Regions from separate parts of the Homo sapiens genome. Here all the other regions are linked to region 2. Evidence: promoter capture Hi-C in human tissues and cell types (Jung and others, 2019). All regions are on one chromosome and are shown on one strand. The core of a region is centred on a gene start or on the middle of the fragment in contact, and the rest is flanking DNA. Distances in the headings are between cores, read along the strand shown. Region 1 holds the start of ZNF100 (zinc finger protein 100). Region 2 overlaps ZNF738 (zinc finger protein 738). Region 3 holds the start of ZNF43 (zinc finger protein 43).

What was found. The method cuts DNA at HindIII sites, captures the fragments that hold promoters and counts their contacts. A contact is called where the count stands out against the background at its distance.
Region 1: the fragment with the promoter of ZNF100 here is called in contact with a fragment that was not itself captured in region 2 in 2 of the 25 tissues and cell types used here (H1 embryonic stem cells and dorsolateral prefrontal cortex).
Region 3: the fragment with the promoter of ZNF43 here is called in contact with a fragment that was not itself captured in region 2 in 5 of the 25 tissues and cell types used here (H1 embryonic stem cells, adrenal gland, dorsolateral prefrontal cortex and 2 more).

The regions. Positions count from the first base shown.
Region 1 is chr19:21,764,732-21,768,976 of GRCh38, reverse strand. It overlaps ZNF100 (zinc finger protein 100), which reads left to right and starts at 1,398. Exons shown (of 5, transcript NM_173531.4): 1 at 1,398-1,550; 2 at 3,191-3,283. The coding sequence starts at 1,548. RefSeq lists a silencer at 1,234-1,411. The HindIII fragment of the contact is 21,319 bases long and covers 1-4,245 here.
Region 2 is chr19:21,383,829-21,388,417 of GRCh38, reverse strand. ZNF738 (zinc finger protein 738) reads right to left here. Exons shown (of 5, transcript NM_001355237.2): 5 at 1-4,589. Among named protein-coding and RNA genes, the nearest start is that of ZNF493, 11 kb to the left of the region's middle. The HindIII fragment of the contact is 5,408 bases long and covers 1-4,589 here.
Region 3 is chr19:21,833,353-21,837,589 of GRCh38, reverse strand. It overlaps ZNF43 (zinc finger protein 43), which reads left to right and starts at 1,408. Exons shown (of 4, transcript NM_003423.4): 1 at 1,408-1,554. The coding sequence starts at 1,552. RefSeq lists enhancers at 371-1,343, 1,455-1,614, 1,635-1,684, 1,725-1,814, 1,344-2,317. The HindIII fragment of the contact is 27,139 bases long and covers 1-4,237 here.

The sequences.
Region 1 (4,245 bases), core at 149-2,648, 380 kb before region 2:
ACATGTCTGAAGGAGCTCAGCTGAGACCAGAAGAATGGCCCCACTCAGCTCGGCCTAAATGGCCAACCATTTCAATTATAAACTAATAAGTTTTGGATGATTTGTTATGCCTCAATAGCTAACTAATACATGCACCCAGTACAGATAAGTTGCCAGGATTCAGTGACAGGTTGACTAAGAGTTGGCTTCTAACAGTGGACACCCTCTAGGTACTGATTTCTTCCCCTGATTTAAAGTTCGATGTTTTGTAAGAGAATTTTGGGTAATGCAGAAATACCTGTAGACATGTATGCGTGTGATTGGTGCTTAGACTCACATAGTCCCCCACACCACAGGAGAAAACAGATAAACACAGCCTGATTGTTAGGGCCAAGACCATATAGCAAACTATGTTTGTTTTTAATCTATTTTCTCCATCTCTAAATACTGGAGTTCAAGTGTGTGGACAGAACTGAAGACATAGTTGTTTTTTCTCCTGTGGCCCCATCATCCTTTGTTCACTATCTGGTCTCTAAAAGAAAGGTGGGCAACAGGTGGCCAGCAGTTGTTTATTACCTGTGGCTATTTTATTCCTACTGCCCTCAGCTCTTTCTATGGGAACTATCTGGTCCACCCTAGGAACCAAAGAGAGATGTTTGTAGGGAGAGTCTCTTCTTTCACTCTCGCAGGAAAGAGATGTTCAGGCCCTTCACACCGCTGACATCAGAGCTGCACTTCAATGTGACAGCTATTGTCCATGTGTGGCTACTGGGTTCCCACAATGTGCCTGGTCTGAAATGCGATATGCTAGAAAGGTAAAATACAAAGTCAGCTTCAAAGATTTAGTTCCAAATATTTATATATTTTATCAATAATTACATATTTCTCACACATTAAAATGATAATATTTTGAATATAATGGGTGAATTACATTGTTAACAATCAGTTCAACTTGTTTCTTTTTAAAGTTTGGCTACTAGAAAATTTCAAATCCACATGTGGCTGACATTCATTTTAGATGATTTTCTCTTTTCTAAAATCTCAGGCTGCCTGCTCAAAGGGCCAGAAGCCAGGAAGGTCATAAAAGCTGAAATTTTAAAATAATTGTTATATTCTTTTCACTTGTGTATAGCTATATAATGTATTATTTATTTATACATATGACCTTATACACAAATTTAAAGGCAAATACTCTCTGGGATGGGCCTAGCTCAGCTGAGGGAGGAAGCCCTGTCAGAAGAGGGGGCAGTCTAGGCTGTCACTCTTTCTTCATTGAACCCGCATCTGATCACATCTTCTGTCACTCAAAGCCTGACAGGGCGGGGATTTAAGCATTATCCAACCAGGGACGCTGGGCTGGAAACCGTCCAATCAGGCATGCAGCTGGAGCGGACTGGACGGCTTCCGGGTTTGGCGGGGTCTTTGTCTCTCGCTGTAGCCGGAGCTCCAGGTTTTGCTCTCACTTCTCTGTGTCTTCTGCTCCTAGGGGCCTAGCCTGTGTGGCCCTCTGACCTGCAGATATTGGGAGATCCACAGCTAAGACGCCAGGACCCCCTAGAAGCCTAGAAATGGTGAGAGTGCCCGGTCCGACATCCCGAGAGACGGCGAAAGGGCTGGTTGGAACTGGTGGGAAGTAGCTGTGGCGGGACTCAGGCCTCTCCGCAGTCAGCTTCACAATCTGCGCCTTGCCCAGCTCGGCCTCCGTCCCCTTCGGCCATAAGATGGCGGCTGCGCTGACAGCCAGGACCCCAGGCGTCCTTTCTCTTCCCTGCGTAGTGACTGTGCCTTGGCCTGGAGCCCTCTCTTGGCAGCTCTGCACCCGCAGCGCCGCGTCTCTCTCAGATTGTGCAGGGACCACGGGAGGGTCGTCAGGGGAAAATCCTGACTCGGGGTGCGGGTTCATGAATGGGAAGATCTTTGGTCCGTGGCTTTCCCAGTTCCTCTTTTCTCCTATTAAAAATGTATGGGAGTCACTGCACAAATATTAACGATTTTTTTGTTTGTTTGAGACGGAGTCGCTCTGTCGCCCAGGCTAGGGTTTAGTGGCGCGATCTCCCCTCACTGCAACCTCCGCCTCCCGGGTTCTGGAGATTCTCCTGGCTCAGCCTCCCGAGTAACTGGGATTACAGGCGCCTGTCACTGGGCCGGCCTTATTTTTTTGTATTTTTAGTTGGGACGGGGTTTCACCTCGTTGGCCAGGCTGGTCTTGAACTCCTGACCTCGTGATCCGCCCGCCTTGGCCTCCTAAAGTGCTGGGATTACAGGCGTGAGCCACCGCGCCTGGCCTAAAGAATTTAATCAAACAGTGATTCAAGAATCATAGAGTATCCAGCTATGGTTTGTAGTTTGTTGTCTATGGGAGAGGCTTGAAGGAAAGTCATTTATAAAATGTATGATGAAGAAAACTAAATTTAGTAATTGGTTACAGTAACGTAGTTTCTTGATTTGTACAATACAGGTGAAGATTTCCTGGTTGTGTAATCAGAGGTTAATTAACAGTTTATAGTTGTTTAAGCCTACATTTTCTCTGAATGTAGTAATTAAAAAAAAAATGCACCTGAGTTAGATTTTTTTTTTTTTTAAGTAGGAACCCAGGGACTAGAGACACCTCAGTGGAATTGCCTGTCTCTTAATTATTTTCACACTCCACGGGGAACTGATTTTCTGCTGCATTTTTCACCTGTGTCCCAAGCAGGTTGTTAAGTCTAACCCCCGTCCCCCATTTCTCCAGCCTCACTCTGGCTTGCAGTAAGATACTAAATTTCCAATTTCTTCTGGCGTTCCCAAATGTCAACTTTTCCTTCCTAATTCACATTATCACCTATTTGTCCTTTAGTGTACTTGTTTATACCATATTTTAATTAATTGTTTTTGACAAAGCATTAAATGGCGCTTTTAAGAAGATGTGTTATCCGCTTGTAAATATTTCCCACGAAAAGGAAACAAAGACTAATCCTCTGACACTGTATTGTAGAAAATCTCTGTGTCTCTTTTCCTTTTACCTTCTCTAGGCACAGAGATTTATCAGAATGTTTTTGGGTCAAGGTTTTGATTTGGAAAAATCTATGGGGTGATGTGTCCTCAGCCACCCTTTAGTTTTTTCCTGGTCCTGGGTTTCAGTACTATCTGTGGATAAACCGAGATATCCGCCATGGTTCTGTCAGCTAAAGTGCCTAGTGAATGTCAGCTTCTGGTTTATTTTCTCCCGTAGGATGACCCGAGGTATGGAATGTGTCCTCTCAAGGGAGCAAGTGGATGCCCTGGGGCTGAGAGGAGTCTTCTGGTGCAGTCTTATTTTGAAAAGGTAACCCCTTGAGACATTAAAATTGTCTTCACCCAACCCAGCTTTCATTTCTTGGAGACACGTTGCTGGTCAGCCAATCAGATGCTGGTATTGAGGGGAAACACAAAAATAATTTCTGCTCCCTGGATCATCTAAGGGGGGCAGAAAAATAGTGAAATAAATATAAAGAAAAATATTGGAAAAAAAAGTGAAAATTTTGTTACCAAAAAGTATTCCAAAAGACAAACAACAACAGAACTGACCCCAGTGAGATGGTGTAAGAGCTTGCAAAGTAAAATGCACCTGGGGCAGTCACTGGGGCATAATGCAGTGTCTTCTGAGTGGGTGGTTCTTGAGCACATAAGTGAGCAGGAGTGGGTGGAAGAATCTCTCCAGTGATTGAATGACCTGACTTGAAACATGAGTCAGACACATCTGTTATTTAATCAGCACTGCCACTACCTGGGTTTGTCACCTTGAAGATATTTGTCACTTATTTTGACCTCAGTTTTTTAGCTGTAAATTGCATTATATTAGTAGGGCTTGAAAGGTAGAAAAATATTTACAAAGGTCATGAAAGAGGTGGGTTTCAGAAAAAAATGTCTGATCATGTATTTCATTTGTCAAAAATTTGTTAAAAATTCTCATTTACTGTTTTTCCCAGAGTGAGTTAGGAATTTTCTCAGGTGTGTTTTTTTTATGGCTGAGTGATTTCAAACAGAATTTCAAGGCTTAGCTTTTAGAATGCTCCCAGGCAAAATCTCTCAATTTTAGTTTTGGAAAATGAATACATTTCCACAAGAAAATGTGGTGGATAATTGGTGAGTTACATAGATTCATTAAAACATCAGTTTCTTTTTTTTCAGGGTAAATTTGTGACAGTGAATATCTGTGTTCAGATCCTGTTACATTGATTTTTGAGTTTTATGCTAAATTTTATGAGATGAAACTCGGTACTGTTTAGAAGTGCTCCCATATGACTC
Region 2 (4,589 bases), core at 906-3,405:
CTTTTTCATCATGCATCTTACATTCTAATGTCCTTACTTGTCCATAGAAAAGATCATAAATGCCCACCTAATGGAAAAGAATCTCTCATACCTTTGATGCAACAATTATCACATGCTTTCACAAGTGAATAAGAATGAAGAAACACCAGAAAATGAGTGTTGAATTACATCATTTGCTTTCAAAGTCTGTAATTTTTTCAAGAAATAAAGTATACTTAGAATGTAGTTATTACTCTGCAAAAAATCTTTTACTCCTCTTAAATTTATATACAAATACTTTTTCTATCAACTTTAGTTTTAGATTATTTTCTATACTCAGAACTCTTGACTTAGTATATCTGCAGTGTCAGTTCCTTATATATTTCTATTATAAATTCTGATATTTACATAGCCCTAATTTGGATTAAATATTTTTTCATTTTTAGTGCATCTTCAAAAATATTCTTCAGTATAAACTCTGGTGTTTTCTGATGTAGTTTTTGAAAAAGTGTTTTTCCACATTTATTATATCTGCAAGACACTTTTCCAATATAAGTGCCCTAATGTTGAACAAAGCTTGAGCAACTGCTTCAGAGTTTTCCTCTAGTACAAAATGTGTACAATAAAATTTGATTCAAGTAAAGGTACTACAACCCTCTTTATGTTTGTAATGTCCATCTTCAATATAAATTCTCTTCTTCACTTTAAAGGGTTATATTTTTCTGAAAGACCTTTTGACAGTAATTGCCCTTATCTTGCTTTTATTAAGTATGAACTCTCTGGTGTTAAGATGTAAGCAGATATTAATGTCTTTTTCACAGTCTGTATTTGTATAATTTTTCTCAAACATAAATGCTTTTCTGTGCAATAAGGTGGTTAAGTTTTGCCACATTGCTCTCACTTGTAGGATTTCTTTCCAGTATGAATTATATTGAATGTAATCAAGTAAGGCAGGGAGTGGTGGCTCATGCCTGTAATCCCAGCACTTTGGGAGGCCCGAGGTGGGCGGATCACCTGAGGTCAGGAGTTTGAGACCAGCCTGGCCAAGATGGTCATACCCCATCTCTACTAAAAGTACAAAAATTAGCCAGGCGTGGTGGCAGGTGCCTGTAATCCCAGCTACTTGGGAGGCTGAGGTAGGAGAATCACTTGAACCTGGGAGGCGGAGTTTGCAGTGAGCCGACATCATGCCATTGCACACCAGCCTGGGGGACAAGAGTGAGACTTCATCTCAAAAAAAGAAAAAAGTCAAGTATGACAACCATTTAAAGACTTTGTCACATTCTTCACATTTCTAGGATTTCTCACCAATATGATTCTTTTTATGGTTAGAAAAGCTTGAGGTGTTGTCAAAAGCATTATTGCATCTTTCTGGTTTGTGGAGTTTCTTTCCAGTATGAATTATCTTATGTGTGTTAAGATCTGAGGACTAGTGGCTGAGCGTGGTGGCTCATGCCTGTAATCCCAGCACTTTGGGAGGCTGAGGTGGGCAGATTACAAGGTCAGGAGTTCAAGACCAGCCTGATCTACATGGAGAAACCCCATCTCTGCTAAACATACAAAATTAGATGGGTATAGTGGTGCATGCCTGTAATCCCAGCTACTCGGGAGGCTGAGGCAGAATTGCTTAAACCTGGGAGACGGAGGTTGCAGTGAGCTGAAATCATGCCACAGTATTGCAGCCTTGGCAACAAGAGTGAAACTCCATCTCTAAAAATAATAATAATAACTGAGAACTAGTTAAAGCTTTTGCCATATTTTTCACACTCATAAGGTTAATCTCCAATATGAATTTTCTTATGTTTGGTAAGAATTGAGGACTGGTTAAAGGCTTTGTCACATTCCTCACATTTGTAGTGTTTCTCTCCTGTATGAATTATTTTGTTCAAAAAGGTTTGTAGGACTGGTTAAAAGCTTTGCCACATTCTTCACAGTTGTGAGGTTTCTCTCCAGTATGAATTATGTTATGTTTAGTGGGAGTTGAGGACTGGATAACGGCTTTACCACATCCTTCACATTTCTAAGATTTTTCTCCAGTATGAGTTATCTTATGTTTAGTAAGGTTTGAGGATTGATTAAAAGCTTTGCCACATGGGTGGGATTTCCCTCCAGCATTAATTATCTTATGTGTAGTAAGGGTTGAGGATTAGTTAAAAGGTTTGCTACATTTTTCACATTTGTAAGGCTTCTCCACAGTATAAATTATCTTATGTGCAGAAAGTTGAGGGGACCATTAAAGGCTTTGCCACATTCCTCACGTTTGTAGGTTTTCTCTCCAGTACAAATTATCTTGTTTAGTAATGGATGAGGATTTCTTAAAAGCTTTGCCACATTCTTCACATTTGTATAATTTCTCTCCTGTAAGATTTTATGTTTAATAAGGTATGAGAATCTATAAAAAGTTTTGAGATATTCTTCATATTTGTAGGGTTTCTCTCCAGCACGAATTACCTTATGTGTCATCAGGGTTGAGAAGTGGTTAAAAGCTTTGTGACATTCTTCATATTTGTAGGATTTCTCTCTGCTATGAATTCTGTTTAGTAAGTGTTGAGGACAAATTAAAGCCTTTGCCACATTCTTCACATTTGTAGAATTTCTCTCCAGAATGAATCACCTTATTTTTAGTAAAGTATGAGAATCAATAAAAACCTTTGCCACATTCTTCACATTTGTAGGGTATCTCTCCAGCATGAATTACCTTATGTGTAGTAAGGGTTGAGTACCGGTTAAAAGCTTTGCCACATTCTTGACATTTGTAGAGTTTCTCTCCAGTATGAATTATCTTATGTGCAGTAAGGCATGAGTACCAGTTAAAAGCTTTCTCACATTCTTTACATTTGTAGGGTTTCCTTCCAGTATGATTTCTCTTATGTGCAGTAAGGTGTGAGGACTGGTTAAGAGCTTTCTCACATTCTTCACATTTGCAGGGTTTCTCTCTAGTATGAACTCTCTTATTTTTTTTATTTATTTATTTATTTTTTTGGAGATAGAGTCTCTCTCTGTCATCCAGGCTGGAGTGCAGTGGAGCCATCTCAGCTCACTGCAACCTCCACCTCCTGGGTTCAAGCGATTCTCCCACCTAGGCCTCCAGAGTAGCTGGGACTACAGGTGTGCACCACTACACCTGGCTAATTTTTTATATTTTTAGTAGAGATGGGGTTTCACCATATGGGCCAGGCTGGTCTTGAACTCTTGACCAGGTGATCTGCCTGCCTCAGCCTCCCAAAGTGCTGGGATTACAGGCATGAGCCACCGCACCCAGTCAAACTCTTTTATCTTTAGTAAGGGTAGAGGACCATTGACCAGGTGATCTGCCTGCCTCAGCCTCCCAAAGTGCTGGGATTACAGGCATGAGCCACCGCACCCAGTCAAACTCTTTTATCTTTAGTAAGGGTAGAGGACCAGTCAAAGCCTTTGCCACATTCTTCACATTTGTAGAAATTCTCTTCCGCATGAATTCTCCTATGTGTAGTAAAGTATGAGTACTGGTTATAAGGTTTGCCACATTTTTTACATTTGTAGTGTTATTCTCCAATATGAATTATCTTATGTATAGTAAGGGTTGAAGATTGGTTAAAAGCTTTGCCACATTCTTCACATTTGTAGGGTGTCTCTCCAGTATGAATTTTCTTATGTTTAGTAAGGTTTGAGGACCAGTTATAAGCTTTGCCACATTCTTCACATTTGTAGGGTTTCTCTCCAGTATGAACTCTCTTATGTCTAGTAAGAGTTGAGGACTGGTTAAAAGCTTTTCCACATTCTTCACATTTGTAGGGTTTCTCTCCAGTATGAGTTATCTTATGATTAGTAAGGTTTGAGGATTTTTAAAAAGCTTTGCCACATTCTTCACATTTGTAGGGTTTCTCTCCAGTATGAATTATCTTATGTCTAGTAATTTGTGAGGAACAGTTAAAAGCTTTGCCACTTTCTTCATGTTTGTAGGGTCTCTCTCCAGTATGAATCATCTTATGTGTAGTAAGGTATGAGAATTGGTAGAAATCTTTGCCACATTCTAAACATTTGTAGGGTTTCTCTCCATTATGAATTCTCTTATGTTTAGTAAGGGTTGAGAATACATTAAAGGCTTTGCCACATTCTTCACACTTGTAGGGTCTCTCTCCAGTATGAATTATCTTATGTTTAGTAAGGGTTGAGAATACACTAAAGGCTTTGCCACATTCTTCACATTTGTAGGGTTTCTCACCAGTATGAATTCTCTTATGTGTAGTAAGGCGTGAGTACCAGTTAAAAGCTTTGCCACATTCCTCACATTTGTAGCGTTTCTCTACAGTATGAATCATCTTATGTGTAGTAAGATAAGATAATCGGTAGAAAGCTTTGCCACATTCTTCACATTTGTAGGGTTTCTCTCCAGTGTGAATTCTCTTATGTGTAGTAAGGTAAATGAATCGGTAGAAAGCTTTGCCACATTCTTCACATTTGTAGGGTTTCTCTCCAGTATGAATCAACTTATGTGCAGTAAGGTAGGAGTAACAGTTAAAAGCTTTGCCACATTCTTCACATTTGTAGGGTTTCTCTCCAGTATGAATTATCTTATGTGTAGTAAGGTATGAGAATCTGAAGAAAGCTTTGCCACATTCTCCACATTT
Region 3 (4,237 bases), core at 159-2,658, 450 kb before region 2:
AGCTGGGCATGGGGTCATGCACCTGTATCCCCAGCTACTTGGTAGGCTGAGTCAGGAGAATCGCTTGAACCTGGGAGGCGGAGGTTGCAGTGAGCCGAGATTGTGCCACTGCACTCCAGCCTGGTCGACAGAGCAAGACTCCGTCTCAAAAAAAAAAAAAAAAAAAAAAAAAAAGTAAGTGTAGGCAAATGTAGATGCAAATACACATCTGTTTACACAAATTCCTACTTTCAAAATCACAGAGAATGGTCACTTTTTAGCCTTTTTATGAATAAAATCCTGGATTCCATTTATTATTCCATTAGAACTTCTGTACCTATTTTGAAATTTGAGATTAAATTGTCTTTTGCTGAGTTTGCCCAGTTTATATTTCAAGTAATACTATATCATGGGAACACATTAGAGATTTTCTATATTTTTATGTTTTACATCAGTTTCTAAAACCTGGAAATTATCTTGTTTTGAATTTCTTATGAAAATGGAATACTATCCACTAAGAATATTCCATTAGCATACTGCAACTTAAAGTCAGGAGATCTAAACTTTTTCTGGTAACATTACCTATATTTAGTTTTTTAAAAAATGTTCTCTTTTTGTATATGCTTTTTAATTTGCTTTTAAAACATGTGCATAACATTTCCTTGAATTCTATTAATGGACCTCAATGCTTTAAAAAAATTTTTTGATAAAATAATTCAGTCTGAATGTGATGGTTCATGCCTATAATCCCAGTACTTTGGGAGGCTGACTTTGTAGGATTCATTGAGCCCAAGAGTTTGAGACCATTCTGGGCTATCTAGTGAGGCTTCATCTCTACAAATAAAAATATGATAACAAATTAGCTGAGCATGGGGCCACATGCCAGTGGTCCCAGCTACTCAGAAGGCTGAGACAGGTAAATTGCTCAAGCCTAGATTGCTGAGGCTGCAGTGAGCTGCAGTCATGACCCTGCACTCCAGCCTGGGTAACAGAGACTCCCTCTCAAGAATAAGAAAAACCCCACAGAGGATAAATAATAAAATATTCAATGTTTGTAATACTTCCTACTCAAAGGGCCAGAAGCCAGGAAGGTCATAAAAGCTGAAATTCAAAAACAATTGTTTTCATTTTTTAGTATCCATATAGTATATTACTTATAAGTGAAGATGACCTTATACACAAGGTTAAAGGCAAATACCCTCTGGGTTGGGCCTGCTCTGCTCAGGGAGGAAGCCCTGCCTGAAAAGGCGGCAGCCTAGGCTGTCATTCTTTCTTCTTTCAGCCCAGCGTCTGATCACATCTTTCATTCAGGGTTTGCGGGGGCAGGACCTTAGAAGTTATCCAATCAGGGACGCTGGGCTGGAAACCGTCCAATCAGGCACGGGGCAGGAGAGGACAGGGCGGCTTCCGGGATGTGGCGGGGCCTTTGTCTCTGGCTGCAGTTGGAGCTCTGCGTCTCGTCTTCGTTCTTCTGTGTCCTCTGCTGCTAGAGGTCCAGCCTCTGTGGCTCTGTGACCTGCGGGTATTGGGGGATCCACAGCTAAGACGCCAGGACCCCCCGGAAGCCTAGAAATGGTGAGAGTGCCGGTCCGACATCCCGAGAGGGGGAAGGGGCTGTGGCGTGACTCAGGCCTTCCCGCAGTCAGCTCCACAATCTGCGCGTGCCGGAGTTCTTGCCCAGCTCGGCCTCAATCCCCTTCAGCCATAAGATGGCGGCTGCTCTGGGAGGCAGCCCCGGGCGTCCTGTCTCTTCTCTGCGCAGTGACTGTGTCCCGGCCTGCAGCCCTCTGTGGGCAGCTCTGCAGCCGCAACGCGGCGTCTCTCCCAAATTGTGCAGGGGCCACAGGAGGGTCGTCAGGAGAGAATCCTGACTCGTGATGCAGTTTCATGAATAGGAAGAGCTTTGGTCCGTGGCATTTCTAGTCCCTCTTTTGGTCTATTAGAAACAGGAGAGTCGGCCGGGCGCGGTGGGTCACGCCTTTAATCCCAGCACTTTGGGAGGTCGAGGTGGGTGGATGACGAGGTGAGGAGTTCGAGAGCAGCCTGGCTAATATGGTGAACCCCGTCTATACTAAAAATACAAAAATTAGCTGGGCGTGGTGGCGCGCGCCTGTAATCGCAGCTACTAGGGAGGCTGAGACAGGAAAATCGCTTGAACCCAGGAGGCGGAGGATGCAGTGAGCCGAGATCGCGCCATTGCACTCCAGCCTGGGCCACAGAGTGAAACTCCCTCTGGAAAAAAAAAAAAAAAAAAACTAAACTAGATTTTCCTTTATTTCTGACATTCCCAAATGCCACCTTCTTCTCCGCAATTCACGTTATCAACTATTTTTTCTTTTTTTTCTTTTTTTTTTTTTTTTTGAGATGGACTTTCGCTTTTGCTGCCCAGGCTGGAGTGCAATGGTGCTATCTCGGCTCCCTGCAACCTCCGTCTCCCGGATTCAAGCGATTTTCTTGCCTCAGCCTCCTTAGTAGCTGGGATTACAGGTGCCTGCCACCACACCCAGCTAATTTTTTTTGTATTTTTAGTAAAGACGGGATTTCACTATATTGGCCAGGTGGTCTCGAACTCCTGAGCTCAGATGATCCACCCGCCTCAGCCTCCCAAAGTGCTAGGATTACAGCACTTAAAAATAGCCACCGAGCCGGGCTATTTTTTTTTTTTTTTTAGTGTACATTTTAGATACAGAGATACGTTTTAGATAAAGATATTTTAGATATCTGTATATTTTTGATACAGATATTTTAATTATTTTTTGAAAAATCATTGGATGGACTTAAATAAATTTTCCTTTCTTCTTTCCTTCTTCTTTCTTTCCTTCCTTCCTTCCTTCCTTCCATCTTTCCATCCTTGCTTCCATCCTTCCTCTCGCTTTGTTTCCCAGGCTGGAGTGCAATGGTGCAATCTCAGCTCATTGCAACCTCCCGGGTTCAACCGATTCTCCTGCCTCAGCCTCCCGAGTAGCTGGAATTACAGGCACCTGCCACCGTGCCTGGTTAATTTTTTTGTATTTTTAGTTGAGACAGGGTTTCACCTTGTTGGCCAAGCTGGTTTCGAACTCCTGACCTTGTGATCCACCCGCCTTGGCCTCCCAAAGTGCAAGGATTACAGGCGTGAGCCACCGAGTCCGGCCTAAATTTTGTTTTCTATTTGAAAATATTTTCCATATTGAAAAGAAAGCAAAAAATAATCCCCTTACACTGTTTGTAAAAAATAAAAATCTCTGTGCCTCTTTTCCTTTTCTTTTTTTCTTTACTTTTTTTTTTTTTTTTTTGAGACAGTGTTGCTTTGCTGCCCAGTCTGGAGTGCAGTGATGTGATCTCTGCTCACTGCAACCTCTGCCTCCCTGATTCAAGTGATTCTTTTGCTTCAGCCACTCCAGTAGCTGGAACTACCGGCACCTACCACCATTCCCAGCTAATTTTTGTATTTTTGTTAGAGACAAGGTTTTTCCATGTTGACCAGGCTGGTCTCGAACTCCTAACCTCAGATGATCCACCCGCCTCCGCCACCATGCCTGGCCTCTTTTTTCTTTTTGTTTTCCCTAGGCACAGGACTCTTTTTTTTCCCCCGCCCCGCCTTAAGATGGAGTTTAGCTCTTGTTGCCTAGGCTTGACTGCAGTGGAGCCATCTCAGCTCACTGCAACCTCTGCCTCCTGGGTTCAAGCGATTCTGCTGACTCAGCCTCCCGAGTAGCTAGGACTACAGGGATGCACTACCACGCCTGGCTAATTTTGCATTTTTAGTAGAGACAGGGTTTCCCCATGTTGGTCACGCTGTTCTCAAACTGCCGACCTCAGGAGATCCACCTGCCTCGGCCTCCCAAAGTGCTGAGATTATAGGCATGAGCCACCACACCCAGCCAGAGACTTTTTCAGAATGTTTTTAGGTCAAGTTTTTCCTTTCGAAAAATGTGGGTGATTTTTCCTCAGCCACACTTCATTTTGTTGTTTTTGTTTTTTTTTTCTGATCCTGGGTTTCAGTACTGTCTAGGGATAAACCAAGATAACCACCATGGCTATGTGTGCTACAGTGTCACAGCCTGGGTGTAGTGGCTCATGCCTATAATCCCAACACTTTGGGAGGCCGAGGTGGGTGAATCACCTGAGGTCAGGAGTTCAAGACCAGCCTGGCCAACATGGTGAAATCCCGTCTCAACTAAAAATACAAAAAAATTAGCTGGGTGCAGGGGCAGGCGCCTGTAATCCCAGCTACTTCGGGAGGCAGAGGCAGGAGAATCGCTTGAACCTGGGAGGC